7 separate regions of the Homo sapiens genome follow, and regions 1, 2, 3, 4, 5 and 7 are each linked to region 6. Evidence: promoter capture Hi-C in 16 types of primary human blood cells and fetal thymus (Javierre and others, 2016). All regions are on one chromosome and are shown on one strand. The core of a region is centred on a gene start or on the middle of the fragment in contact, and the rest is flanking DNA. Distances in the headings are between cores, read along the strand shown. Region 1 overlaps DSEL-AS1 (DSEL antisense RNA 1). Region 2 has its middle 21 kb from the start of DSEL-AS1. Region 3 has its middle 40 kb from the start of DSEL-AS1. Region 4 overlaps CD226 (CD226 molecule). Region 5 overlaps RTTN (rotatin). Region 6 holds the start of TMX3 (thioredoxin related transmembrane protein 3). Region 7 overlaps CD226 (CD226 molecule).

Region 1 (3,803 bases), core at 519-3,018, 1.2 Mb after region 6:
GCCTTTTCTATCCACAGATTATAAGCTCCATTTGGCGAAGAATATTTTTTCCCCTTGGGGTTTTTCAGCGTCTTCCACAGTGCGTTATTGAGCACTCAGTGAATATTTATTGAATTAAGGAAATAAAACTTAATACATAACTGCAGGAATAAATAAGATTGCTTGAATACATGACCAGTCCTTGACCGTTCCAGACTGAGAGGAGTTATAGTAGTAGATAACTTAAAAGAAAAGATAGTATTTTTTTTCCCAGCATTAAAATGGAAAGTTGAATTCCTGGGGTGCTGAACTAGCATATGCAAAATCAGGAAATTTATTTTCATGCAGCCAGCTCACAATCAGAAGTCAAAACCTTGCCGTTTATGATTTGAATCCATTTTATTTGGCATTCACAGAGTTTTCAAAACAAGTTAAGCCATTAGAAAAATCAGATAATTTCCCATACAAGTTCAGATTTCTGGCTTTCTTTGCAAAATCAGATTATCTCGTGACATGGGTCCTTACGTTCCACATGACAACAAGCACCTGGCTGGCTTCACCCACATAAATTACCTACCTCCCATCTCTATCAAACTTTACGTCTTTGAATCTGAAACAAAATTATGTTCTATTTTAAGTAGCTAGCCAATTATTATTATTATTATTTTCATTATTATTATTATTATTTTAATTGACAGGTAAGGCCAGGCACAGTGGTTCACGCCTGTAATCTCAGAACTTTGGGAGGCTGAGGCAGGCAGATTACCTGAGATCGGGAGTTTGATACCAGCCTGGCCAACATGGCAAAACCCTGTCTCTATTAAAAATACAAAAATTAGCCAAGTGTGGTGGCCACTGGGGAGGCTGAGGCAGAGAATCACTTGAACCTGGGAGGCAGAGGTTGCAGTGAGCTGAGATCGTGCCATTGCTCTCCAGCCTGGGCAACAGTGTGAGACTTTGTCTCAAAAAAAAAAAAATTAGAAAAATAAAATAAAATAAATTGACAGGTAAAATTGTAAGTATCATGTAAAATATCATGTTTTGAAGTATATGTAGATTACAGTTTGACTAAATCTAATTAACCTATGCATCACTTATAGTTATTATTTTTGTGATGATATCAGTATGTCAAAGAGACACTGATATATATCTCTGCACTGCTATGTTAATTACAGCTCTATTCATAATAGCCAAGCTATGGAATCAACCTAAGTGTCCATCAATAGATGAGTGGATAAAGAAAATGTGGTACATATACACAGTGGAATATTATTTAGCCATTTGCAACAATATCTATGAACTTGGAGGACATTATGTTAAGTGAAATAAGCCAGGCACAGAAAGACAACTACTGCATGAACTCACTCACATGTGGATTTTTTACAAATTGATCTCATAAAACTAGACTGTGGTGGTTATCAGGGGCTCAGTTATTGGTGGGGGCAGCAGGTTTAGGGCGATGTTGGTAGCTGGCAGTATTTTAAAAGGTTATCTAATGGTGATTTGTTAATTTTGCAGGATCATAATGGAATTTAAAAATACAGGCTTCTTATATTTCCTTCCTCACTCTACCTTCAAGTAGGGTTTTGGATCTCATATCTCGTACTTTTAACAAGTAATTCTAGGTGATTCTTCTAATTAGGTAAATTTAATACATTCTACAAAAGGAATAATTTTCAGGGGATAAGAAAGAGGAGTCAGCCTGTTCACATAAAGCGTGGGCATTTTTGAACCTTTCCTCCCCCCCAACCTTTCACTATCCCACCATACCTCAACCTCCCACACCTCAACTACTCACCACCAAATACACTGCTTTTATGTGCTTCCCTGGGGGTGCATGGCTCTCTGGTTTGTGTCATTTTATAATAGATACTTTTAAGGTATAAGCCAGCTCTCTCTTCCTAAGATGATTGATATCTCGAACCCACGAATGTCAGCCCCTGTAGCAGTATTTGAACTATATGACCCTGAACTGCTTTCCATTGCTGCTGGAGTCATGATGAAACGCTGACTCTGCTAGGAAATCATCTTTTCCGAGAATTTGGATTTGAGGTTCAAAAAAGACAATTGATTTCTGCCCGATGGTGGAGTCAAAGTGATATAAACTTGTGCTGAAGGATAGCCATGTTGAGTTGTATCACCATGAAGGAGAAGGTGAAATTGATTCTCAGAAAAAGAGAAGGAAGTAAATGCTCAGGAGCAGAGGGAGAAGTCTCCCTGCCTCACATGGATGGAAAAAGGAAACTTTTAGTGGCTTTCCAGCAAGGAAGCCTACTGAGGAAATATGATACTGGCTAGATCTGAGTAAGATACAGGTGCTGATGGCGGGTTAGTGGCCAACACTCTACAGAGGAACCTGTCACTTCTGCTCTACAGCTAAACTCTCACTTCTGGGCAACAAACTCCTCTGCTAACTGCCATTTAATCAACTTGCCCCCCAAAATACAACTTTCATTGTTTCTAGGTTGTATTCATTTTTTTCTCTTTTCTGTTTTATAAATCTTATTTGCCTTTATTGCTTGACTCTAATATCTCACTTCCTCACATGTGAATAAATAATTTAAAGGCAAGACTATTAAACGTTCTGCAAAATAGCTACATACATGTTTCTGAGTTATTCTGCAACACCAGTTCCTAATCCTAATCAGTCCTTATGCTTCTGCCAGCCTGAGAATGTTTCTGTTATGTAGCCAAACAAACCCTCAGGCACAGGTGTGTGTGGCAAGGAGAAAAGAATGAGAATTATGTTCGAACAGTGACTCTCAAAATTTGTTAGGCACTTGAACATTTTAAGGTACAGAATACCAGGTTACACACTGAGATTCTTAATCCATAAGGCTGAGACAGATTTGATAATTGACATTTTTAATAGCACCATGAACTTTCTGATACTGGTAGTCTAAGAACTGTAATTTGAAAAACACTGTTCCAGTGGAAATAAATCTGATAGTAAAGGTAATTGGGGTGCATGATATGTACAGGGGTTGTGGGTAAAATGACATTCTCTTATTAACATCAGAAGGGCATTTCTGATAACCCAAAAAGACACATCATTCCAAATATTATTTGGTAGTAATTAGTTTACTGCCAATTATGCCTGTAGGCATAGCTCAAGTTTTTATAAGAGCTGAGACAGCTAGGTTTAGAAGTATTTTAGGTCAAATGAAGAAAAATGGAGCCAGTAGCTGGTAAACAACAAAAAGTCATCTGTGAATAAATTAGAGAAAGCTAGTGTCTTAGTCTGTCCTTGCTGCTATAATGAAATACCACAGATAAAGTAATTTATACATAGCAGAAATTTATTTCTCAGAGTTCTCAAGGCAGGAAATTCCAGGATCAAGGTGCCAGAAGATTCTGTGTCTGGGGAGGGCTTACTCTCTGCTTCCAAGATGATATCTCTTGCTGAATCCTCACATAATGGAAGAGGCAATAAAGAAATGAACACTGTGTCCTCATGTGGAGGAAGAGATGGAAGGTGCTATGGTCTCAACGTGTTCCCCCAAATCCAAGTGTTGGAAACGTATTCCCCAATGCAACAGTGTTAGGAGGTGTGGCCAAATGAGAAACCTGTTTAGTTCATGAAGAATGGATTAATGCTCTATAAAAAGGGCTGGTGGGAGTGGATTCTCTCTTTCTCCTCCTTTTCTGCCATGTGAAGATATAATGTCCTTCATCTCTGGAGGCTGCAGCTTTCAGGTGCCATCTTTGCAGTAGAGAAACTGGGCCCTAATCTGCCAGCACCTTGACCTTGGACTTCCTAGCCTCCAAAACTGTGAGGAAATAAATTTCCATTCATTATAAATTACCCAGGGTCAGGTATTCTG
Region 2 (3,848 bases), core at 551-3,050, 1.2 Mb after region 6:
ATATTTGTATAGTTTGCTGAATTTTCTTTGTTAATAATTAGTTTAAGATGTTTACATCAACAATCGTAATTGTGATTTGCCTGTAATCATCTTTTCTCATATTGTACTTGCCTAATCTTGAAGTCAACATTATACTTGTCACATAAAATAAGTTGGAAATCTTTCAGTTTTATGTTCTTTAGAAGAGTTTGCATAAGATCGAAATGATTTAATGCTAGAATGTTCCTTAGAACCTATCTGTAAAGCTGTCTGACCATTGTATTTTCTTTGTGGGAAGCTTTTTAACAATGCGTAAAATTGTATTTTGTGCTTATAGACTTATTCTATTTAGCTCATATAGTTATTTTGTAAGTCTGTTTTGGCAAGTTGTGGTTTTAAGAATTTGTCTTTTTGGTCTCATTCTGTTACATAGGCTGCATTGCATGGCGTGACCTTGACCGCCTGGGCACAAGCAATCTCCCACCTCACCCTCCCAAATAACTGGAACTACTGCTGCACACCACCGCACCTGGCTAGTTTTTTTTTTTTTTTTTTTTAATTATTTTTGTAGAGATGGAGTCTTACTCTATTGCCCAGTCTGTGTCCTTTTCTTTTTCACATTTATTGACCCAAGTTTACTCAAAATGCAGATTCTGTTGCCTCTCTATTCATCCCCTACATATTTTTTCTATCCTTAATATTGAGCATGTGTGCTTTATTTCCTTTTATTACTTAATTGGAGTTTCCCTTTTATAATGTGTCTTTTTGAAGATTAATTTTTAGTTTTACTTTGTTTCTAACTTCTATTTTATGTACATTTGCTGTTGCATTAACTTTGGCTTCTGATTTTACCTATTTCCTTCATTCTATTTTATTTTTTTCTAATTTGCTTTCGATGGTGTGTTTTGTATCTTCTTTAATGAGATATATGATCCATTTTTTTTTGCCGGACTCCTGCCAAAACCCACCAGGAGTAAGCTGGATTTATTGCTTCTTTTAGTGAGAGAGATTTAAGAAGTGTGGCTTTTCTCTGGATTAGCTGCTCTTAGGAAGTGGGAGTAGTTCTATGATTGGGTATCTGAATAAATCTTATCTAGAAGGAGACATGAATGCAGAGAGGCTAAAGCTGTAATTGATGAAAAAGTAGCCATTGCTTATATTAACCGGGAGACATGAATGTGCACTATTTTGTGGTTTAGAAAATGTTTATACTTTTTCTGTATTCAAACATGATTATGGAGTAGTGTCGTTTTTGTCTTGATCACTGAGGTGACAGAGTGGCTTTGTTCTGTGAAATGTTCATGTTCAACAAGAGGATATTGGGCCTGGCTGATGGTGACAGGCCAGCTCCTCAATGTCAGGAGGTAATTTTTTTTTCATTCCCATTTTTAAATTATTATTATTTTTTACTATACTAATTTAAGGCTATTAATTTATTTTTTAAACCCTATTGCTTATATTCCACACATTTTGATATGTAGTTTATTCATTAACCCTTCTAAATGTTTTCTGACTTCCAGTGAAACTCATGGTTGAGTTATTCTTAAATTTATACAGCACTATTTATCTCTTGTTATTACTTTTTATCTTCAGTATGTTGGAACTTTGTTTAGTATTAGTTTGAGATGTAATTTTTCATTTTGATATTACCAAACATTTTGTGGCCTGATGTTTTTAATATACATACTGTAAATAGAAGATAGCTGGATTTTACTGATATTCTAAGAATCATTGTCTTTTATCTGGAGTGTTTATATCCATGTGATTATTGATATTCATGGATTTATTTATAATTAGCATGTACTTTCTGTCTATACCTCTTTTAACTATTAATATATTCCTTTTCAACTTCTGTTTTGAATTATTTTGAGATGATTAATGCCTCCCTTCCTTTTACTAGAAGCAATGCATCCTATTTCTATTATTTCAGGGCTTATTAGAGAAAAATGAAAAGTGATTATTACTCTTTTATACAACCACTATTTGTATATTTATTCATATGTTTATGTTTTTCTTTCTGTACCATCAAACTGCTCAAGCCTTTATTCTGTGCTCATTTTTTTCTGCCTTAAGTGCATCTTTAATATTTTCTCAATTTTTGTTTGCCTAAAATGTCTTTTTATGACATTCATTCTTGCAACGTAAGTTGGCTGTACATACAGTCCTAGGTTTACAGCATTTTGAATATATTATTCTACTTAACTCTTTTTACTACTTCTGTTTTCTCAATGAAATAGAAAGCAGAATCAATAGATGAGAAAAAAGATGGGGAAAGAAGTCTTGGAGGCTGGATAAGAGAAAAGGAGGTATAAAAATAGTCATCTAGAAGAGTGAAAGAGTAAAGGGTATGGAGAGGGGAAATTTTGTACCATTGCTAGACAGCTCTAATGGCCTTCTTGAAAGTAATGGCTGTTCACGTTCTGTAAGAAACCTGCTTTACCCCAGCTCTGTTCAGCTGCACACATGCAAGTGTAGAAAAAAATGGAAAGCTAGATTAGCCAGATTGTGTTTTCCCCAGGAGTGAGTGAGATGACAGAAGAAAAAAAAAATAAGAGATAAGGTTGCATGCAAGGGACTGATTATAGAGGGTAAAGTGGCTATGAGAATATGAGGCTTAGGAAACACTGTAAAAGGGATTTTAAATCGTGGCATCCAAGATTGTTGGAATTGAGGTACTAGCTGGTAAGATAAACTAAATAAACTAGTTTTTGTCATTTTCAAAATTGCCTCATGAGCAAAGAAGGCTAGTAGAGCTGAAATCATCATTGCTGCATTCCAGGAAGCTGGAAGGAAGGAGAGAAGAGCAACATCCCAGATGATGTTCTCTTCTGAAAAGAGCCTGTTAATCAACAACTTCCACTTTCTTGAGGTATAATTTGTAGAAAAGAAGAATTTCTGGAATTACTTGAGATTTTAAAAACATCAAAGCAGAGACCTCCACAGATTCAGATTTCCGTGGCCTGGGGGGAGGGTAAAATGGGTAACCAGCATCTGCATTTTTAAAATGCTCACCCTCCAGGGGATTCCACTATGTAGTGGAGGGAAATCCACTGCATTAGGCATATAATAGTACAATCAGTTACAGTTGTTTCTTGTTTTCTGCAGTAATTATGTCATATAACATTGTTGCAAACACTGAATTAGTGAACAATACCCTATTGCTCCTGGGGAAATAAAGGGTTAGGGTGGTGGAAGCCTTTGGTCACTAAATTTTTATCAGTCAATAACCTTGGTTCATGAGTGTTTCTGTTTAAGGACACCTTATATAATAAATATTGTTGATTGGTTTTTGACATTGAACTCACAGCCAACAGCACTGTAACTCATACCTGAATGAAGCTTATCTAACACTTGTATTTTCTTTGTAAGGCATATCATAGCCTTCTTTAGTCTAGGAACACTATTAGCCCTGCAACACTACACTTTGGGGCCAATTTAAACAGCAAACTCACCAACAAAAATCACACAAAAAAGTGTGAAAAACGTGGCATTAAATAAGCCCTTAAGAATGCACTTGTTTATAGCATGAAAGTGGAAACAAACAGGCAAAGCACTACCTTGTTCAACCTCAGTTGGGAATGTGCTCTCTCTCCAGGTAACTTAAATTTTTTGCCACTCTGCATATATCTGCAAATGACCATTGACAGTGATTATTGATTTTTGAGGGAACATACCTTTTAGCAAGAAGTCAAACTTACAAATGCAAATCTGCACATAATGAGGATCAACTGTTTGTGAAGTTCTTTCCTTTCCATATGTAGCTCTGGTTTTTTCAGAGATCTCTGCTTGAACAACAGCTCCTGCAACAGCTCCCACAGGTCTGTTTCTGTGCACTTGTGCTCTCTCTGTCCCACTTTAACAAGAATTGT
Region 3 (3,847 bases), core at 1,279-3,778, 1.2 Mb after region 6:
ATTCTTTTGAGGAAAAGCACTGAGCAATATAGCTTGAGTGTAGGGTACATGTGTGGGGTGATGGGAGATTAGGACCAAATTGCTGTACTTCTGCCAAATTGTGGAGTTTGGTTTTTAGTCTACATAAAAGGCAAATGATTTAAGGTTTCTAATAAGGGAAAAGACATAGTCAAATATGAACCAAATGAATAAGTACAGCAGCAGCATGTATAAAAACAAGGCATGTGCAATGATTAATTTTATGTATCTACTTGACTGGGTGCCCAGATATTTGGTCAAACATTATTACAGATTTGTCTGTGAAGTGTTTTGGGGTAAGATTAATATTTGAATTGGTAGATGGAATAACACAGATTGTCCTCCATAATATGAATGGCCCTCATCCAATCAGTTGAAGGCCTGAATAGAACAAAAAATCTGAGTAAGCTGGAACTGCCCCTGCCTGACTGCTTTGAGCTGGGACTTTGATCTTTTCCTGCTTTGGGACATGAACTAAAACATCGGCTCTTGGGTTTTTACCCTGCCAGCTTTCGGACTCGAATGTTCACCATTGACTTCCCTGGTTCTCAGGACTTTGGACTTAGGCTGGAACTGCATCATCATCAGCTCTGATGGGTCTCCAGCATGCTGAATGCAGATATTGGGACTTCGCAGCCTCCATAATCATGTGAGCAAATTTCGTATACACACATACTGTTGATTCTGTTTCTCTGAAAATTCCTGACTAGTACAGAGATTTTGGATTAATAGATCACTTAGGTATCCACTGAAATATTACTAGCGGGAAATAGTGCTGATCTGAATGAGAGTGATAGCATATACATATGTCATTTTCTTGTTTGCTCCTCTTCCCTAGTAGCAAAAACTACCCTAAGGAAAGAAGGTTTTTTTTTGACAATTAAAAAAATAAACTTTAGCATCATTGAAACATTAGAAAATATGTCTGCACAAATGAATAACTTAAAAATATATTATTACTGAAATGGAGATAAACATTGTAACATCTTGGCCTGTGTACTTCTAGAATTTTATCTGTGAGTAATTACCCATACCTCCCCACAAAAGACTATGCATTAGGTCATATAAAATATTTTTGGTAATCTATTTATTTCATATAACAATGTATAATGAACATCTTCTTCTGACACTAAAATATCTATGTCAGCACTTAAATATGCAGAAGTATTTTTTATTCTTCAAGTCCTTGGTACTAAATAACTACTACTCACTCAGTTTCCCCTTCATAGCTTACCGAGAAAGGATCGTAGCAAATCATAGCTTTCAGTAGGTACAGAACATAGAGAAACATTTTTTAATTGCATAATTATACTAAGATAGAAGTTACAAATCTTGGACATTGATAGACATTTACTCATATTAACTTGGCCTGTGTACTTATATAAGCAAAACAAGATAATACCTATCAACACATTTCAGGCAAATTTCTACTTTATCGATAAATCCAAAATGTGATCACCATTAGTACCACCACTTCAAACCATGTAAAGGGATGATTGCAAACTTATGATATTTAGATACTACTTTAGCCAAAGATATTATATTTGGTTTTATATTTTGAATAGTGGTCTGTTGTATCACATGCTGATCTGTCACCAGTCCATAGAAAACCTTTGTGAAATCTAGGAAAAGATGTCCTTTCTGGATGGATAAAGTCCTGCAAAGTGCCTGACTTGACAAGGTGACACTCCTTCCTCCATATGGGGCAGGTATATCCCCATGCCAGCCCCAGTTTAGTAAGTGGACCTCAGGCTGAATTTCTGCTCCTATTCTCCTGTCAAAACTGTATGTGGTGCCCTGAAAGTTGGAAATACTAATGAAAGATTCAAAATAAAATTAGTATTCCCTACTATATTGTCTTAACAAATTAAAAAATATGACTCTGCTAAGAAACATTATTTCAGTATTTCATATGCAGACATTTAAGTTGATTCTCAAACAAACATATCATTAATTTTTTTCAGTCTGTCTCTGCACTTTGAAGAGATAATCTCCAGGGTACAAGCTGTCACAGGGCTGAGTCACTAATGTATTTTGACTTTACGCTAGGAGAAATCACTTCACATCTGGTATTAAAGAGTGTTCGTTTCTTGCTTCTTGTGACAGTTCTTGGCAAAGTTTGTTAAACCATAATGTTTATTTAAACATGTTTTAAAAGATGTGCCCAAATTGCTTTTATGTCCTTGTAGTTTAATCATAACATTATGTGCCACTGAAGACCAGAAGATACATGATTTACACAAATTATCCAATATAAATGGTTGGATGCGATGGCTCACACCTGTAATCCCAGCACTTTGTGGGGCCAAGACAGGAGGATTAATTGAGGCCAGGAGTTTGAGACCAGCTTGGGCAAGATAGCAAGACCCTATCTCTACAAAAAAAAAAAAAAAAAAAGAAGAAAGAAAGAAACTGAGCCAAATGCGGTGGTGCATGCCTGTGGTCTCAAATACTCAGGAGGTTGAGATGGGAAGATTGTTTGATCCCAGGAGGTCAAGGCTGCAGTGAGCTGTGATCCTGTCACTGCATTCCAACCTGGGTAACATAGTGAGACACTGTTTCAAAAATACATAAATATATACAGACATTATTGCCACTTGAATCTAAATCCTTCAATATATGATGTACAATGAGGCTTATATTTGTAGAACTCTCAATAAAATCATACCTAAAAATGATAGGAAGTTTCTACTCATGAATAACTTAAATTCAGGCCAATGTTCACCTGCATGAAAGCAGAGCTCTCCCTTCTATGCTTTTGTAAAAATTGTGATCATCCATGTATGTATAAGGTTATCAAGTTACCATAAACTTAGTAGCTTATAACAACAGAAATTTATTATTTTACATTTATGGAAATCAAAAGTCTGAATGGGTATCATTAGGCTAAAATAAAGGTGTTGTTAGGTCTGTGTTTCTTTCTGCATTCTTTTGCTAAGTCCTCACATTGATTGCCCCATCTCTGTGGGAGAGTTTAGATTGTGTCACAGTTTTGAGGAGGGCAGGATTGCACTTCTCCTTCCCTGCTTACATTATGATCCTGTCGAGGGAACAAAGGATCAGAGATTGAAATGTAAGCTCTATTAGTGAGAAAGCCCAGTTTGGAAGAATGTGACAAAGATGAACTCCCTAATACTTAAGAGTAGATTTTGGCAAAGTTTCCCACCCAGCCCCAAGTGGTGCTGGAAACCGCACATGGAAATCTGTCCTTACAGTACTCTTAACCTGGAGGCATGGATTAGAACACTTAATCTTACTCTCAGGTAAGGCTGATTCCCAAGAAACATCAGGACTGGAGTCTAGACTATTTGGCAGTTCCCCTCTATATTTATCAGCAGGTAACTTTGCCCCCGTGGAAAGAGGTAAGAGGAGAGCAAGTAAAAACCCCTCCTCATGGAAACCACAGCAGTGAGTTAGAAACATTCCTCTCTCTGCTGTCCAACAGACTAGTCATTTTAATAAACATCTAAGAAATTTATTAAAGTCACTTATAAGACCTGGTAATATTATATAGTAGTTTAGCTGTCTCAAAATAAAAATCCCTCCTCATGGAAACCATAGCATTGAGTTGGAAACATTTCTAAATATGTTAGGAAATAGATGGAGCATATGCCATTAAATTGAATTGTAGGAACTAATTATCCAAATAATCTGACCCACCATTTCTCCAAATTTAAATTTCAAACTATTTATTTTGATACAAGCTGCCTTACATATTTTGGAATAAATAAAATCTTGTTTTAAATTATGCAAAATGCTTAAGGGAAGAGTAAAAATAATTATCTGAATATTTATAAATGTGTTAATAACATCATTTTTCTTTATACTA
Region 4 (3,504 bases), core at 29-2,528, 1.2 Mb before region 6:
AAATTTCTAGGAAGTTCCCAAATTTCCCACATTTTCCTGTCTTCTTCTGAGCCCTCAAAACTGTTCCAACCTCTACCTGTTACCCAGTTCCAAAGTTGCTTTCACACTTGTGGATATCTTTACAGCAACCCTCCACTCTCTGCTGTACTCATTTACTGTATTACTCAGTTTTCATGCTGCTAATAAAGACATACCTGAGACAGGGTAATTTATAAAGGAAAGAGGTTTAATTGATTCTCAGTTCAGTATGGGTGGGGAGGCCTCAGGAAACTTACAATCATGGTGGAAGGGGAAGCAAATATGTCCTTCACATGGTAGCAGGGAGAAGAAGAGTGAGTGCCCAGAGCAGGGGAAGCCCCTTATAAAACCATCAGATCTCATGAGAACTAACTCACTATCATGAGAACAGGATGGGGGAAACCACCCCCATGATTCAGTTATCTCCACCTGGTCTCTCCCACGACACGTGAGGGTTATGGGAACTACAACTCAAGATGAGATTTGGGTGGGCACACGGCCAAATTATATCATATGATCATGGAGACTGATAAGCCCAAATTTGCAGTGTGGGCTTGCAGGCTGCAGACCCAGGAGAGCCGATGGTACAGGTGAAGCCCAGGTCATCTGCTGCAGAATCCCTCTTGCTTGGGGAGGCTGGTCTTTTTGTTGAATTAGGCTCACCTACATTATGGAGGCAAACTGCTTATTCAAAATTCACCAATTTAAATGTTAATCTCATCCCAAAACACCCTTCAAATTGACACGTAAAATTAACCATCATACCTGTTTTGGAAAATGATATGGCATTAGCTAGTTAAAAACCCCAAATCCTATGATCCAATAATTCTACTCTGTTTGGTATCCAAGAGTTCTCTCATTATAGGGAAAATTCCTGACAATATTTATAGCAACAGTGATTGCAATAGCAAAAAATTGGTAACAACCCAAATACCCATCAACAGTAGAACCGAAAAGCACACTGAGGTCTATTCACACATTAGGATACTCTACATCACTAAAATGAGTGAATTATCACTTGCTCACCGACATGGATGAAGCTCATGAACTTTGTGTTGAAAGAAAAGAGCAAGTTACCAAAAAAAATAGGTAAACTAGGGTTCCTTTTCTTTAAAGGTTTTAGAAATATGCATAATTAAACAATACGTTATTTATAGATACAAACGTGGTAAAACTATAAAGAAAAGCAAAGTTCAGAAACATGGTAGGTGGGGGATAGAATAGAATCAGGAAGGGCTGAAAGGGTCTTTAAGGCTCATAGTCAGGGTGTTTTCCTTATACAGGTGTTTTATTTTGCATTTGTCTCAAAATGTTTTAGAAGATTTCTTTCAAATCTACTGATTTCTTTTTCTTTTCCTTTTTTGAGACAGAGTCTCACTCTGTTGCCCAGGCTGGAGTGCAGTGGCATGATCTCAGCTCATTGCAACCTCTGCCTCCTGGGTTCAAGTGGTTCTCCTGCCTCAGCCTCCTGAGTAGCTGGGATTACAGGCCTGCATCATCACACCCAGCTAATTTTTGTATTTTTGTAGAGATGGGGGTTTTGCCATGTTGGCCAGGCTGATCTCAAACTCCTGACCTCAGGTGATCCACCCCACCTTGGCCTCCCAAAGTGCTGGAATTACAGGCATAGGCCACCTTGCCTGGCCAAATCTACTGATTTCTAATGGTGAAAAGAGATGTGATTGCAATTTTTGAGCAGTTGAAAGCTCTAAGGTAAGGATGAAATCTTCATTCTGATATGGCCTGGGGGCCAGGTAGAGGTAAGTTTCAGCAATGGTTTCAAATTTTTATGATCCAAGGACTAAAAAATGATGATTTTAGTGAAAAAGATGTGAAATTAAGAGACCAACTTGGCTAGCAAGAGTGGAATTAAGTCTGTTTCAGGTGTATTAAATTGTAAAGTAGCCTTTGACCAGCTGACAATTGAAATTATGGAACAACAAACCAGGATTGAAAATATCCAATTTGAAGTCATCTGAATGATCATCCAGCACATGTGGATGGATGGGGTTAACTAAGAAAGTACCAATGGATGGGGGCAGAAGTCTAAGGTCATAGCTTGTGGCTTGGAGGATGGTCACATTGTAGTGTGTTAAAGAAGGTGTTCATGTTAAAGAATGTAGAGGGCATAGAGAAAAGAGGGGGAGAGTTGGGAGGGAGAGGAAAGTGAACAGGTGAATTATTGATGTGAGAGCAGAAGACACATAGAACTCATATTTATAGTAGAGGGTTAGATTTTCTTGCTCCACACATGCAGGTACTTTGTGTTGGCTGTATTGTATGTTTGCTGACTCTGTGATCTCCCATATTCCAGTCCATTTATCTCAAACTGGGCACAGAGATGTTCCTCACTGTTTCCCTTTAAGAGTCTCATTCTCTCCCAGGTGGGATGAGGCTCCTTATATGCCATCCATGCTCATTCTTAGAAGGCTCTTATCTCTACACCCTTCAGGGACAAGTGTTCTCTGTCCAGGTTCCCAGCAGCTGACATAGCAGCCAAAGTTTTCTTTCATTCTTGTATATATCTGCTGGTTAGTGGCACTAAAGAGATTCCTTTAATATTAAGGGCTCCAGAATTGATGGCAGTTCTGAGGAATCCTATGATGAAAGGGATTCTAAAGATCATGCTGGCCTATATATTAGTTGAGGGCAGCATGGCCAACATTTTTCTAATGCTGGGGTATAATCTCAGCCTTTAAATTTGATTTAAAGCTGGGGAGAGGGAAGTGTCTCAAATCTGGCTTTTATAAATGGGTGTGCTGATTTGCAGGAGCTGAACCCACTTATCCATTAATTCACTCATCAAGTCTTTCCTGAGAATCTACAATGTACAATGTAATGTTCAGTGGTTTGGAAGATAGAAAGACATAGATCTTAGCTCTAAATAGGATGTAGAATATTGGGAGAGAGAAAAGTTTATATCACAAATTATTATTTGAGGCAAAAAAATAAGTCGCATTGTAGTCTAGAGGATATAATTTTATTTTACCTAGGAAATTCAGGGCAGAGTCCCTGAAAAAGTGGAATTTGAACTGCCAACCCAGAAAATTTGGATGTTGAGATTAATAGGCACTATTCCAGGAGAATTGCTTTAGAAAATTATCTAGAAAATAGACAGCTATTTTCTAGATAGTAGGCTCCAGTGTAACCTACTTTGGAAGATAATTTTCATTGTTCAAAAGGACCCCAACAACAAAACACCAAAAACCTCTAAAATTGAACCAACACATAGAATTGATCAACAAATTAAAGCAATTTATTCCGGTTTACAATTCATGGCTTGGTTGACATGTTGAATTGCTGCTTCAAAAGGCAAGGGAAGCCAGATGCACTATGCAATTGTATTTTACAACCTATCTTACGGTATTTGCACACTTTCATTTCGGCTTTTGTTTTGCCTATCCCAAATTCAGAAGGAAGGAAGAAAACATACGAAAATGACACTATCATATCTATTAATGACAGGTGAAAGTGATGGAGGAGGAG
Region 5 (3,844 bases), core at 115-2,614, 1.4 Mb before region 6:
ATTTTGAATTAGATGGAGATTTTTTCATATTCGGTCTTTTCATGAATTGTATCTTGATGTCCTTGCTGGTTCTCCGCCACAATTGGGTTGTTAGTCTCCTTTCATTTCTTCTTTCCTGTCCTTTCTTTTCCTCCCTTCCCTTCTCCCTTCCCTTTCTCCTTTGCTTTTTCCTTCCATTTTCCTCTTCCCTCCCCTCCCCTTTCCTTGGAGCGTGATTTCATTCTGGTACCTGCAACTTGGACATTAGTGTAGAGATCTTTCACCTTTTGATTAAATTTATTCCTAAATATCTTAATTTTTTTTGGTAGCTATTTTAAATGAGGTTTTTTTTTGGGGGGGCGCGGTTACTGTATAGAAATGCTACTGATTTTTTATAAGTTGATTTTGTATCCTGCAACTTTATTGAATTCATTTTTAAGATCAAAGTTTTTTGGTGGAGTCTAGGTTTTTCTAGATTTAAGATTATATCATCAGCATAGAGGGACAGCTTAACTTGCCTTTTTTCTAATGTGGATGCCTTTTATTTCTTTCTATATACTAATTGCTCTGGCTAGGATTTCCAGTACCATATTGAATAGACATGGTGAGAGTAGACATCCTTGTCTTGTTCCTGATCTTAGAGAAAAAGCTTTAAACTTTTCACCATTGAGAATGATGTTAGCTGTGGGTTTTTCATATATGGCCTTTATTGTGTTGGGATTCCTTTTCTACTTAATTTATTGAGAGTTTTTATTATGAAAGGATGTTGAATTTTGTCAAATGCTTTTTCTGCATCTGTTGGTATAATCATGTGGTTTTTGTTCTTAATTCTGTTAATTTGGTGTATCACATTTACGCATTTGTGTATGTTGAACCATCCTTGCATCCCTGGAATGAATTCCACTTGATTATAGTGAGTGATCTTTTTATTGTGCTCTTGGTTTCAGTTTGCCAGTATTTGGTAAAGGATTTTTTATATCTGTGTTTATCAGGGATATTAGCCTGTAATTTTCTTTTCTTGTAGTTCCCACGTCTGGCTTTGGTATCAGTGTAATGCTGCCGTCATAAAGTGAGTTTGGAAGTATTCCTTCTTCATTTGGTTTTAGGAGTACAGAGATTAGTATTAATTCTTTAAATGTTTGGTGGAATTCAGCAGTGAAGCCATCAATCAGGTCTTGGGCTTTTTTTTGGTGAAAGACTTTGCATTACTGATTTAATCTCCTTATTATTGGTCTGTTCAGATTTTCTGTTTCTTCATGATTCCATCTTGGTAGCTCTATGTGTCTAGAATTTTTTCCACTTGGTTGTCCAATTTGTTGACATGAAATTGTTCATAATAGTCTCTTACGATTCCTTGTGTTTCTGTGGTATCTGTTGTAATGTCTTCCCTTTTCGTTTCTCATTTTGTCTTCTTTTTTTATTAGTCTAGCTAAAGGTTTGTCAATTTTGTTCATCTTTTCAAAATCTCAATTCTTGATTCTGTTACTGTTTTCTATTGTTTTTCCAGTTTCTATTTCATTTGTATCTGCCCTTATCTTCATTGTTTTCTTTTTACTAAGTTTTGGCTTCATTTATGCTTCTTTTTCTAGTTCCTTGAGGTTGTTTACTTGATATCTTTCTTTTTGACATAGATGTTTATTGTTATGTATGTCCTTCTTAGACCTGCTTTTGCTGTATCCCATAAGTTTTGGTTGGTTTGGTGTCCATTTTTGTTTGTCTCATGATATTTTAAAATTTCCCTTTTAGCTTTTTCTTTGACCCACTGATTGTTCAGGAGCATGTTGCTTAATTTTTATGTATATGTGAATACTCCAGAATTCCTTCTTTTGGTGACTTCTAGTTTTTTATCACTATGGTCAGAAATGATATTAGATATGATTTCAGTCTTGTTATATTTGTTAAGACTTGTAACACCATACATGTACTGTTAATTTTGTAGTATGTCATAAGGTTTATGTATATTTTATAATTTATTCATAGTTATGAAATTAAAATTAAATTCCTACAAGACTCTAGATGATTGTACTATAATTTTAATGCAGTTTTTGAAAAGGATTTTTGGTACAGTTACATTTACTTATTTGGTTTTGTATGGTATTAAACCTTTCTTCGGAAAGCTTCTACTTTATCTCATATATTATCACCACAAGTGTTATAAATAATACTACTTTTAAGAGTGCACAAAAGTGAACTTAAGTGTTCACTATCAGTTGGGTTTACTCCCTAAATATTATGCTACAAGATAAATTAATATATGTTATATAACTACCAATGTTTAGGATAAAGGGAACCTGGAAATAGAAAATCAAGTACCTTTTAAAGTTTATCCTTTGAAGTGAGTAAAATAAGTGAGAAATGATTTAAGAAGCTCAGTAAAATAACATTTCCAAGTAAATTGCTTTGAATGTATGGACATACATGAAAAGATATACAAAAGTTGTGGTTGCAAAAACAAAATTAGGCAGATATGAACGCCTGATTAGTCAGAAGAATGCTAAGAGGAAGTGAAAAGAAAAATCAGCTAACTTCCCGAGGGAAGATTTAGGAACTTTCTCTTGTGAAATTTTTTTCCATGTGTTTTATCAAGACATTCACTTATTACAAACATATTGTAATTCTTAGGCAATTTAGGAGTTTATTGCACCTCTAATCTGTTTTTAATATGATATTTTGTTTATAGTAACCTAGAAGTGCTGAATTTGAATACCTTTCTTTTTGGAATGCATTTTTTTGATGGAAGTTCACAAATGTGGGGCTGTTAGTTTTTTTCTTCTTTTGGTGAAGCTCAGCAGAACTACACAGCATATATATTTTCCTTGGCTGGCTTTCCCGTAACGGGCTCAATGTGCACTCAGACATTATTGAGGGTCTTGCAGTTACTTTTGGCATAGCTTGCTGATGGATGTAAAGTTGGATATGATGAGTGGTAACTGTGTGTGTAAACAAAATGAGCCATCATTATAGAAATGGTTGCCTTTTAGAGGTCAACAGTGACAAAATAATGGCCCAAGTAGTTGGTTTAAAATTAGGATTGAATCCTAACGTCTAAAGACAAAAACTTCAGATATGATTAAGCACTTGACATCTGTAGGCATCAGTAGAGACATCTTATTCTACTCTATTGTACTTGAGAAATGGTAATTCACCCTATATTTTACAAGTGGTATTGCTGAGGTTCACTGAATTTCAGTGTTAACATGTAAATCAAAGGTGAAAAGAGAAAAAAAAACTTCAGTAATCTTCAAGTGGAAGCAAGTTATTAATAGGATGAGATTCTTTGGGAGAATCTTAATTTTTAGGTATACACATACTGTTTCAGTATATTCATGTATTAATAGTAGCTTCTACTTAATTTTTATCAGCATATCAGAATTAATAATTCCTAATAATAAAATTGTTTTACAAGATGGAGTTTGCGTCTTGGTATAAACAGTTTGTTCATTTTGTCAGTAGTTTTGGGAGTCAGAAGGCACGTGAATGTGAGTCAGCTTTTGGATATTTAGGGCTCAGAACATTATAGAAAATTTATTTATTTTTATGATTTACTAAATGTGTATTTCGATTCTTTTATTCATGTATGAAACATAAAAGTTGCAGTTATGTCTTATTCAATCTTAATTTATCCAAAGACATATATTGCTTAAGATAAAAGAAAAAGTTGGGAAAAAAACTATTTAGATGTTAAAATACTGTAAAATAAGAGCAAAATGTCACTACTAGTTTCCAAAAGCTCTCAGTTATATTATTTATAATTGTATATATCTCTATATACTATAAGCAATTTAGAGGTTTCTTTACATATTTTCATTTCTTTTCCCTAAAGAGAATGCAGTTAATTTTGAGTTGAGCTCTTTTAGGTGAAGGA
Region 6 (3,633 bases), core at 568-3,067:
CTGTATTCTTAGTAGAGACGGGGTTTCACTGTGTTAGCCAGGATGGTCTCGATCTCTTGACCTCGTGATCCACCTGCCTCGGCCTCCCAAAGTGCTGGGATTACAGGTGTAAGCCACCGCGCCAGGCCACATCTGGCTAATTTTTTAATTTTTTGTACAGATGGGGTCTCACTGTGTTGACCAGGCTGGTCTCAGACGCCTCACCTCAAGCAATCCTCCTGCCTCAGCCTCCCAAAGTGCTGGGATAATAGGCATGAGCCACCCATGCCTGGGACTTGATCAGTATTTAGATTTCATAAAATTTACAGTTGAAAAAGTAGATTCACATACCTCAGTTGTTCCAACCACATTAAAAAAACTTTCCAATAGCTGAATCGAGTGTCAGTTTTTGAGTTTACTGAAATTAAAAAAAATAAATATTCAGTTATTTCATCACACTAGGCACATTTCAAAAGCTCAATAGCCACATGTGGTTAGTGGCTACACTACTGAAAAGCACAGATCTAGGTCAACTGGCTTTTGTTGTTGTCCACATGTGAACTTAAACTGTAACGCAAATATAAGAGGAAATTATTTCACTTTGCATGCTGTGGAAGACAGAAAACTTTGAAATACATGAGAATGAAAAAAAAAAATTGAATATGGGTCATTCAGAGACCTTGCCAAGAAAGTAGAAAAGCTTCTGTATAAGAGTATCGAGGCGATGGTACTATTATAAAGCTGTTCCACCACCACCGGGAGAACATTCCCATCATTTCAACAGTCCCCTTACGTTTTAGTCTACTTTTTTCTTAAAAAAAAAAGAAAAAAAGGAAAAGAGAAAGAAAAAGAAAAATTGAATCTGTAGAGGGCTTGCGCTGGATACCATGCTGCATGCACAAAGGGGGTGACATTTAGGGCTTGCTCTCAATTAGAGTGCAATTTAATCTTCTAGTCACTAGGAATAACGACGTTTTATGACATTTTTGCCTGTTGGAATTTTGAACCTAAGGTGAACCGGCTGACATCATATCCCCCTTCTGTTGTTGTCACAGGTTTTCAAAATTTGGTTTGATCTAAATTCTCTGGTACCTTATGTCCCATAAAAATTTCATCTAGTTCGTAAGTAGTGATTGCTGCAGTAACCGTCTTATAAAAGTATATGGTTTTTACAAATCATTGTCGTATAGAAGAAAAAACAGGTAGCAATATAAATATTTCATACTACTTTATCTAGTTCCAAAATAATCAGAAAAGAGCCATCAAAAAATATCCTACGCTTAACTTCATGTTCTCAAGTTTCAAGAGAAAGTTTTTAAAGAGGCAATCCTTACTTTGGCAAAAATGCATTAAAGCTTGCTGCATTTAAGAGATGTCCCATTATGCAAACAGGTTGAAAGAATATTACAAATACGTTTTGGAAAAATACGGAGTGTCGCGCAGCTCAGCAATCCGCAGTCTTAATGCGCGCCTCTTTCCAGGAATTTGATCCAGCATCAAAACCCACAGGTGCACTCACCACACGGGAGTAACAAGTAAATGATGTGCCAGTATTCAACCTGCAAGTGCGTCGTCAGAGCCTACCTCACCCTCAGCATAACTTTCACCGGTATTCACCTTCCCGGAAACGCGCCCCAGTGAACCAGCACCGTTTTCCCTAGTAAAGCCCTTAAGCAGGGTTCCCACGCTCCTGGGCGTGGAGGGGGGCACCGAGAGCGCAAAGGATTCTTAAGACATGACTGCGCAGGCGCTGTCGCATGCGCCGCACTCCCCTCGCATGCGCCGCACTCCCGCGCATAGCCGGAGACGGAGACTGGCCGGGTAGCCCCGCCCCCGTAGTTAGCGCGGTGCTTCTCTTCCGCTCCGGGTCGGCTCCGTTTCCCTTTCCGGGCGGGCAGGCGGCGGACCCCAGTGTCTTTATCCCTCTTTTGCACAGTCAGCTTCTGCAGCTCTCCCGGGCTAGCATGGCAGCGTGGAAGAGTTGGACGGCCCTGCGGCTCTGCGCCACAGGTAATGGGGGCTCAGCGGTCGGGACGCTGGCGGGCGCGTGGGACCTGGCCCCGCCGTGGGGCCGGGATTGGACCCGGGTCTGGGGCGAGGCCTGCGGGGTTCGTGGAGATGCCCACCCATTCCCGGCAGCGTCCTGCCGCCCCCGCCGCGCCACCCTGCCTGGCCCTGACGGAGCGGACACCTTGGGGTCCTTCCGCCGCCGCTGTGCCGGACCAATGCTGGACGTGGGAAGGGCGCGCTGCCTTGTGTTTGTGTTTTTCTCATTGTGGCAGAAGTTTCAATAAAGCTTACTCCTTTGATGGGCAAGAAGGATGCCGCCGTCCCAGCTTAACGACCAAATCTTGCCTTGGCTTTAGGTTCCGAGTCTTGTCACGTTTAAGGATTTTTACCACCAGTACTCAAGAGAGGGTGGTCGAGGACAGATCAGGGTCAGGCCGCCGGGATTGTGCGGTGTGAAAAGGACCTGAGTGTGTGTCAGCGGTTCTCAGCTGCCTCCCGTCAGCATGGAGTGCCCTCATTCTCACTGGGGTCCGCTCACTTAACAACCTTTTAGAGCCCACTCTGTGTCAGGCACTGCCGTGTAATAAGTATTAGAGTTGCAGCTCGACTTTCTTCCTACGTATCTATTTGAGGGGAAATATTTTGAATGGCATTTGGAGTTTTTACGGAAGAGGTAATTGCTACTAAAGCAAAAGAAATAAAGAAGAATGCTGTCTATTTGTATTCCAAAAAGATAGGATGGTTAAAAAGAGACGTAAGATGAGAGTGAAAATATGGAGGAAAAAGGAACTGTGTGTATTAGATTTATTGGCTTACCTAGAACTTGGCCGGTCACGATATGGTTGCATACAGACTAAATATTTATTAAATGGATGAACTACCTTTGCTTTTGCATCATTTGCACCCTGGGATGCATCAGTGATGAATTTTTTGGTAGGTTGTGAAAGGTCAAAAACACTTCAGAGATGACTAAGCTTATACGGTATGAGCCAAATAATCAGCATTTATTGTGTACATTTTGTCTTTTTTTTTCAGTTGTTGTACTTGATATGGTCGTCTGTAAAGGATTTGTAGAAGATTTAGATGAATCGTGAGTATACATATATATATTTAAAATATTATTTTAACTGTCCAACTCAGATATCTGAATATTTGCATGTGATTCTAATATTTTAGATTGGAACCAATTTTTATATATCACTCATTTTTTTCACTTGTTGTAAGTGAAGGTGAGGGTGTGCCCAGAAGAGTTTTATTAATAGTTATGAGATCAAAAAACTGTGGCAAACTTTTACATATTCTTTTTTTCCTCATTATCTTACCTTGTATTTATGTCTTTTTCCTTTAATTATATTGAATGGGTGTTAGAATTTGGTAACTGTACTGTATTTATCTTCATAGTATGACAGCATTAATCAGCCTTGCTTATAGTAAGTGAGGAGGTTCACTTCAGACCCAAATTCCTGTGTGTGATCTTTCAGGCTTGACCATAGACAATTGCAAGGCTTTTTCTGGCATAGGGGAAGGTGCCCTCCCTACACCAAACTTGGTGTATAACCGGTGCATTACAGTCCCTGGAGGGAGTGGTAGTCAAGGATTCGGCCTCCCAGGCCAGCCACGCTCATTTGCATGTCTACACTCCCA
Region 7 (3,696 bases), core at 446-2,945, 1.2 Mb before region 6:
AAGGTTCAGAATTCGTATGCAGAAAGTTATACTGCTCTCTCAACATCCCTTAAAGCAAACTTGATGAGCATATAATGAGTGCCCATTGGGTGCTCATATTGAGTATAAGAATCTCGTCTGTTCCCTTATGTACAAAATGTATAAAAAGGACAGTTCATGCCCCTAGTAGGTTGATACCCTAGTGGATGAACCGTGTATTTAGTATGAAAGATAAAGCTCAGATTTCTAGTCCAATGACTCATTAAAAAATATTGTGTGGTTTGATGCTTGTCTAAACATCAGGAAAACAAATATACTTTTTGTATTACTTTATGAATCAAACACATCATTGTTTCTTGTTGAGATGATAAATGTTTTGAGTCATGGCTTTCCGGAGGGTATTTTATTCAGTACAGATTAGTCTGACAGCCTATATTTTACCTTTTATTTTTTAAGGTGTATTTCACTTTCAGCATCCGAACTATATTTTGGGAGAGGAAATAGAGGGATGGTTAGATGGTCAATGTCATACTAAATTATTCTTTAGGACTAGAGCATTCTTAAATTCTATTATTTAAAATTGGTTTTGTCTTGTTACTCTTACATGATTTTATAAGTAACCACACACCAAATTAATCTTTTCCTGAAATATACATTGAAGTTTTTAGTTTTGTTTGTGGTATATTACAAATAAATCACAAATCAGTATCTGTGTGGTTATCTCTGGTTGCTGAAATCATCAGTGATTTATTTATTTGCATCACTTAGATGTCTAATTTAAACCTGCGAGTAAATTATTTTTGCTGTAAAATGCAATTGAATCTATTGACAGGCAAAAAATATGCTTTGTTCTCTTAACTGTTATTCTACAGTAATATACCTCTGAAATGAAATAGCACAACTGCAATAAACCTCACATTAGGGTATATCTGTAATCATTACCACTGGCTCTGGCACATCCTGTGATTTGATTCTGATCCCCAAATTTTATGGCTTTTTTGTTTTGTTTTGCTTTTAAAAGACAAACCTATAAATGTGAAAAATGTAATTCCAAGACAGTAGAGTTAGGAAGCCATTATGAAGGCAATTGTAGAGGAAAATTGAGAGTGTAAAATGATAACTTTAAAATATTTAAAATTATGGAGGTGGAAATTAAATTGCAGACTTCGGGGAAGTGCGTACTATGCAGGGGAAATGGAAGTCATCCCTAACTTAGAAAAAGAGTGTGTAGTGAGATAAAAGAGCCAAGGAGAATGGCAAACACTGAGCTTAAATATTTCAAAGCAACTATTTCAATTAGTTTCCGCATTTAAAAAATGGCGCGTAGCAATAGGACATATACCAATTCATAGGAAGCATATTTATCTAAGTTCTTTCTGACCTAGCTTCCAAAGGTATATTTGAGAACTAACTGTAATCTGGAAAAGAATTGTTTGTTTTCTCCATTTCATCTTTGCTTCCAGTGTTTACAATTTTAATGGGGCTGTTAGATGAATTCTGGCAAATGGAGAACCATGGCATGATAAAAAGTAGCTGAGGACCTTTGGTTAGTTATATTAACATTGAATTCATTTATTAGATTAAAAATACATCATATGGACTCTTTGATCATTTGCTAAAGTGTATATGCATTTCTGCATATTTTTACTCATTCTGCTACTAATAAAGCAAATAGCAATGATTGTCAACCCTATCAGATCCAATGTTCTCTTCTGTAATAAATACTTTATAAGTCTCCTTAACCATTTTGAAATCGTGTCCAGGTGCTATTGTGTGAGAGGGATAAAATGAAATGGTGAAATGTGTTCACCTCCATTTAGAATCACCGTGAACTATGACTAGAAGATGTGATTACCCTGAATGGCATTGTCAATCATTAACGATACTGTTTCCAAAATGAACAACTCTGGTAAAGCTCTAATACTTCAAAGTAAAATCTTCCCTCACTTTAAACTGAACAAGAGTAGAATTTCTAGAAAATCAGAGTATGCTAAGATAGTAAAAAAATATTTTTTTGGATGTTTTCTTGTGCCAATTTACTTTCAGGCGAGTCAGGACCTATTGCATTATTGATTTTAATTCCTTTGACTTTCCTTTGCAATTTCCTTGAGATTTGGCTCAGAATTTGGGACATTGTCTTAAATATAGTAGGTCCTCAATTGATGGTTATTTGTGTTAGTTACTTTAGAGCATGAACATTTCTGTTTTATTGGGAGTAACAGAATGACAGCTGAATGCAACTGAAATGGTTGTGGTTGTCATTCTCAATTAGAAGGAGGGCCAAAAGTCTAGTCTATCTTGCCTTTTCTTCTTTTTCCAATTTACTTCAGTAGAAATGCTTTTGTAAAGGAGCAATATATAGGACTTGGCACAAATACGGAACTCTGTAGCCCTTCAGTGAGAAAATTGGAAACTGGCAGAACTATCACAAGGAATTGCTAACCACAAAACTTGAAAATAAATATTCTCCTCTTGGTCCATGAACTCAATGGAATAATTGATATATGGTGTTCACTGTGAGTTTCTTTTCTGGTAGTGCTAATCAACTTGAACCAAGCTCCTCTTTGTCTTCCTCAAATTGCCAATGGCACTGATATGAGGTGATTGACTTGAAGCAGTCGAAGATCTCATCAAACTCATCAAAAATGTCAAGGTCGTAGAGTAGTTTTGCAGGTGTGATCTGAAATATTATATAGAAAGGTAGAATTTCAGAGCCAGAGATTTTTCACATTCTGACATAATACATACAAGCCAAATTCATAGATGGTAGTATAAATACTGGACATTTTAGATTATTGTTCCAAAATCATGCTATGAAAATATGATCACAGTGAGACAGCTTTCCAAATTTTGGAAATCTCTCTAATAGAAGTAGTGCATTTCCCCCAACTCATTTTGTTTCCAGAAACCTCATTAAGATCAATAGAATGATAGAGAAGTCGTGGGATGCCATTTTTTCCCCTTCACACTTTAGTAAGAAACATCTTCTTCCTTTTTCTCCCTTTCCGGTGAGGTTGTCTATAATTCTCCAATTCTTTTAGCACATCTGAAGCCCATCTTTCAGAGGGCTGGTCCCTTGCTCCATAATATGCAGGCTTAGCATTTCACTAGGACACTTGAGCCCTGCAAAAAGAGTTCTCTGCCCACACTGAACTCCTGCCTGCTCGTGAGGTCCATCCTGCAGAGACTTCTCCTGCCTCCTTCCCAACTACTCTAAGCACCAACTTACCCCACGCTTGTAATTTAAACAGTAATTTACAAAGGTTGTTACTCTAAGAGTATGGCATACGTTTACTGAGTTTGCTCTAAGATGATCTATTTTTTTTAAATAATGTTCACATGTAATGCATAAACATAGATTAATAAAATTCTAGAGTTGCTTTAGGCAGTTTTTCATTTAGAAAAAAGCACATGTTTAGAAAATAAAAAGTTTATTTTGTTTTCTAATTATGAACAGACCTGTCCTTTTCTCACTCTGAGAAATAAAAAGCTTAAATAATCCCATCTTTGATCTGTGCTCTGTGACAATAACAAATCCTTTAGGCACACTTATCTCTTCAATAAGGACTTTTTTGGTTTTCAGAGCTCTGGCGATCTATTTTCTAAAATGTTTCCACGTTCATTTTTCTTTCTATGATATCCTTGGTATTCTTGTGATGTCTCTCTCTCTTCTCCACTGCTATTGGGAAAGGTGAGGGTGTGGAGACGGGGAAGATG

Evidence for each region. The method cuts DNA at HindIII sites, captures the fragments that hold promoters and counts their contacts. A CHiCAGO score of 5 or more calls a contact.
Region 1: a contact is called between a fragment that was not itself captured here and the fragment with the promoter of TMX3 in region 6, in 12 of 17 cell types (total B cells, total CD4 T cells, naive CD4 T cells and 9 more). The highest score is 20.8, in total B cells.
Region 2: a fragment that was not itself captured here is called in contact with the fragment with the promoter of TMX3 in region 6 in 1 of 17 cell types (naive CD8 T cells); the score reaches 6.9 in naive CD8 T cells.
Region 3: a contact is called between a fragment that was not itself captured here and the fragment with the promoter of TMX3 in region 6, in 1 of 17 cell types (total B cells). The highest score is 9.2, in total B cells.
Region 4: a contact is called between a fragment that was not itself captured here and the fragment with the promoter of TMX3 in region 6, in 5 of 17 cell types (activated CD4 T cells, non-activated CD4 T cells, total CD4 T cells and 2 more). The highest score is 10.7, in activated CD4 T cells.
Region 5: a fragment that was not itself captured here is called in contact with the fragment with the promoter of TMX3 in region 6 in 2 of 17 cell types (M0 macrophages and total CD4 T cells); the score reaches 5.8 in M0 macrophages.
Region 7: a fragment that was not itself captured here is called in contact with the fragment with the promoter of TMX3 in region 6 in 1 of 17 cell types (total CD8 T cells); the score reaches 5.2 in total CD8 T cells.

Annotation. Positions count from the first base shown.
Region 1 is chr18:67,521,340-67,525,142 of GRCh38, reverse strand. All of the region lies in intron 1 of DSEL-AS1 (DSEL antisense RNA 1), which reads right to left. Among named protein-coding and RNA genes, the nearest start is that of DSEL, 6.5 kb to the right of the region's middle. The HindIII fragment of the contact is 5,417 bases long and covers 1-3,803 here.
Region 2 is chr18:67,493,856-67,497,703 of GRCh38, reverse strand. No RefSeq gene overlaps it. Among named protein-coding and RNA genes, the nearest start is that of DSEL-AS1, 21 kb to the left of the region's middle. The HindIII fragment of the contact is 3,041 bases long and covers 280-3,320 here.
Region 3 is chr18:67,475,033-67,478,879 of GRCh38, reverse strand. No RefSeq gene overlaps it. Among named protein-coding and RNA genes, the nearest start is that of DSEL-AS1, 40 kb to the left of the region's middle. The HindIII fragment of the contact is 9,635 bases long and covers 1-3,847 here.
Region 4 is chr18:69,936,963-69,940,466 of GRCh38, reverse strand. The region is part of intron 2 of CD226 (CD226 molecule); the gene reads left to right. Among named protein-coding and RNA genes, the nearest start is that of CD226, 9.2 kb to the left of the region's middle. RefSeq lists an enhancer at 306-645. The HindIII fragment of the contact is 6,842 bases long and covers 1-3,504 here.
Region 5 is chr18:70,115,784-70,119,627 of GRCh38, reverse strand. The region is part of intron 26 of RTTN (rotatin); the gene reads left to right. Among named protein-coding and RNA genes, the nearest start is that of RTTN, 88 kb to the left of the region's middle. The HindIII fragment of the contact is 1,468 bases long and covers 631-2,098 here.
Region 6 is chr18:68,713,292-68,716,924 of GRCh38, reverse strand. TMX3 (thioredoxin related transmembrane protein 3) reads left to right here and starts at 1,817. Exons shown (of 16, transcript NM_019022.5): 1 at 1,817-1,989; 2 at 3,025-3,079. The coding sequence starts at 1,944. It also overlaps a transcript of CCDC102B not described here. RefSeq lists an enhancer at 1,490-1,559 and silencers at 1,760-1,889, 2,070-2,169. The HindIII fragment of the contact is 941 bases long and covers 1,337-2,277 here.
Region 7 is chr18:69,913,166-69,916,861 of GRCh38, reverse strand. The region is part of intron 2 of CD226 (CD226 molecule); the gene reads left to right. Among named protein-coding and RNA genes, the nearest start is that of CD226, 33 kb to the left of the region's middle. The HindIII fragment of the contact is 3,552 bases long and covers 1-3,471 here.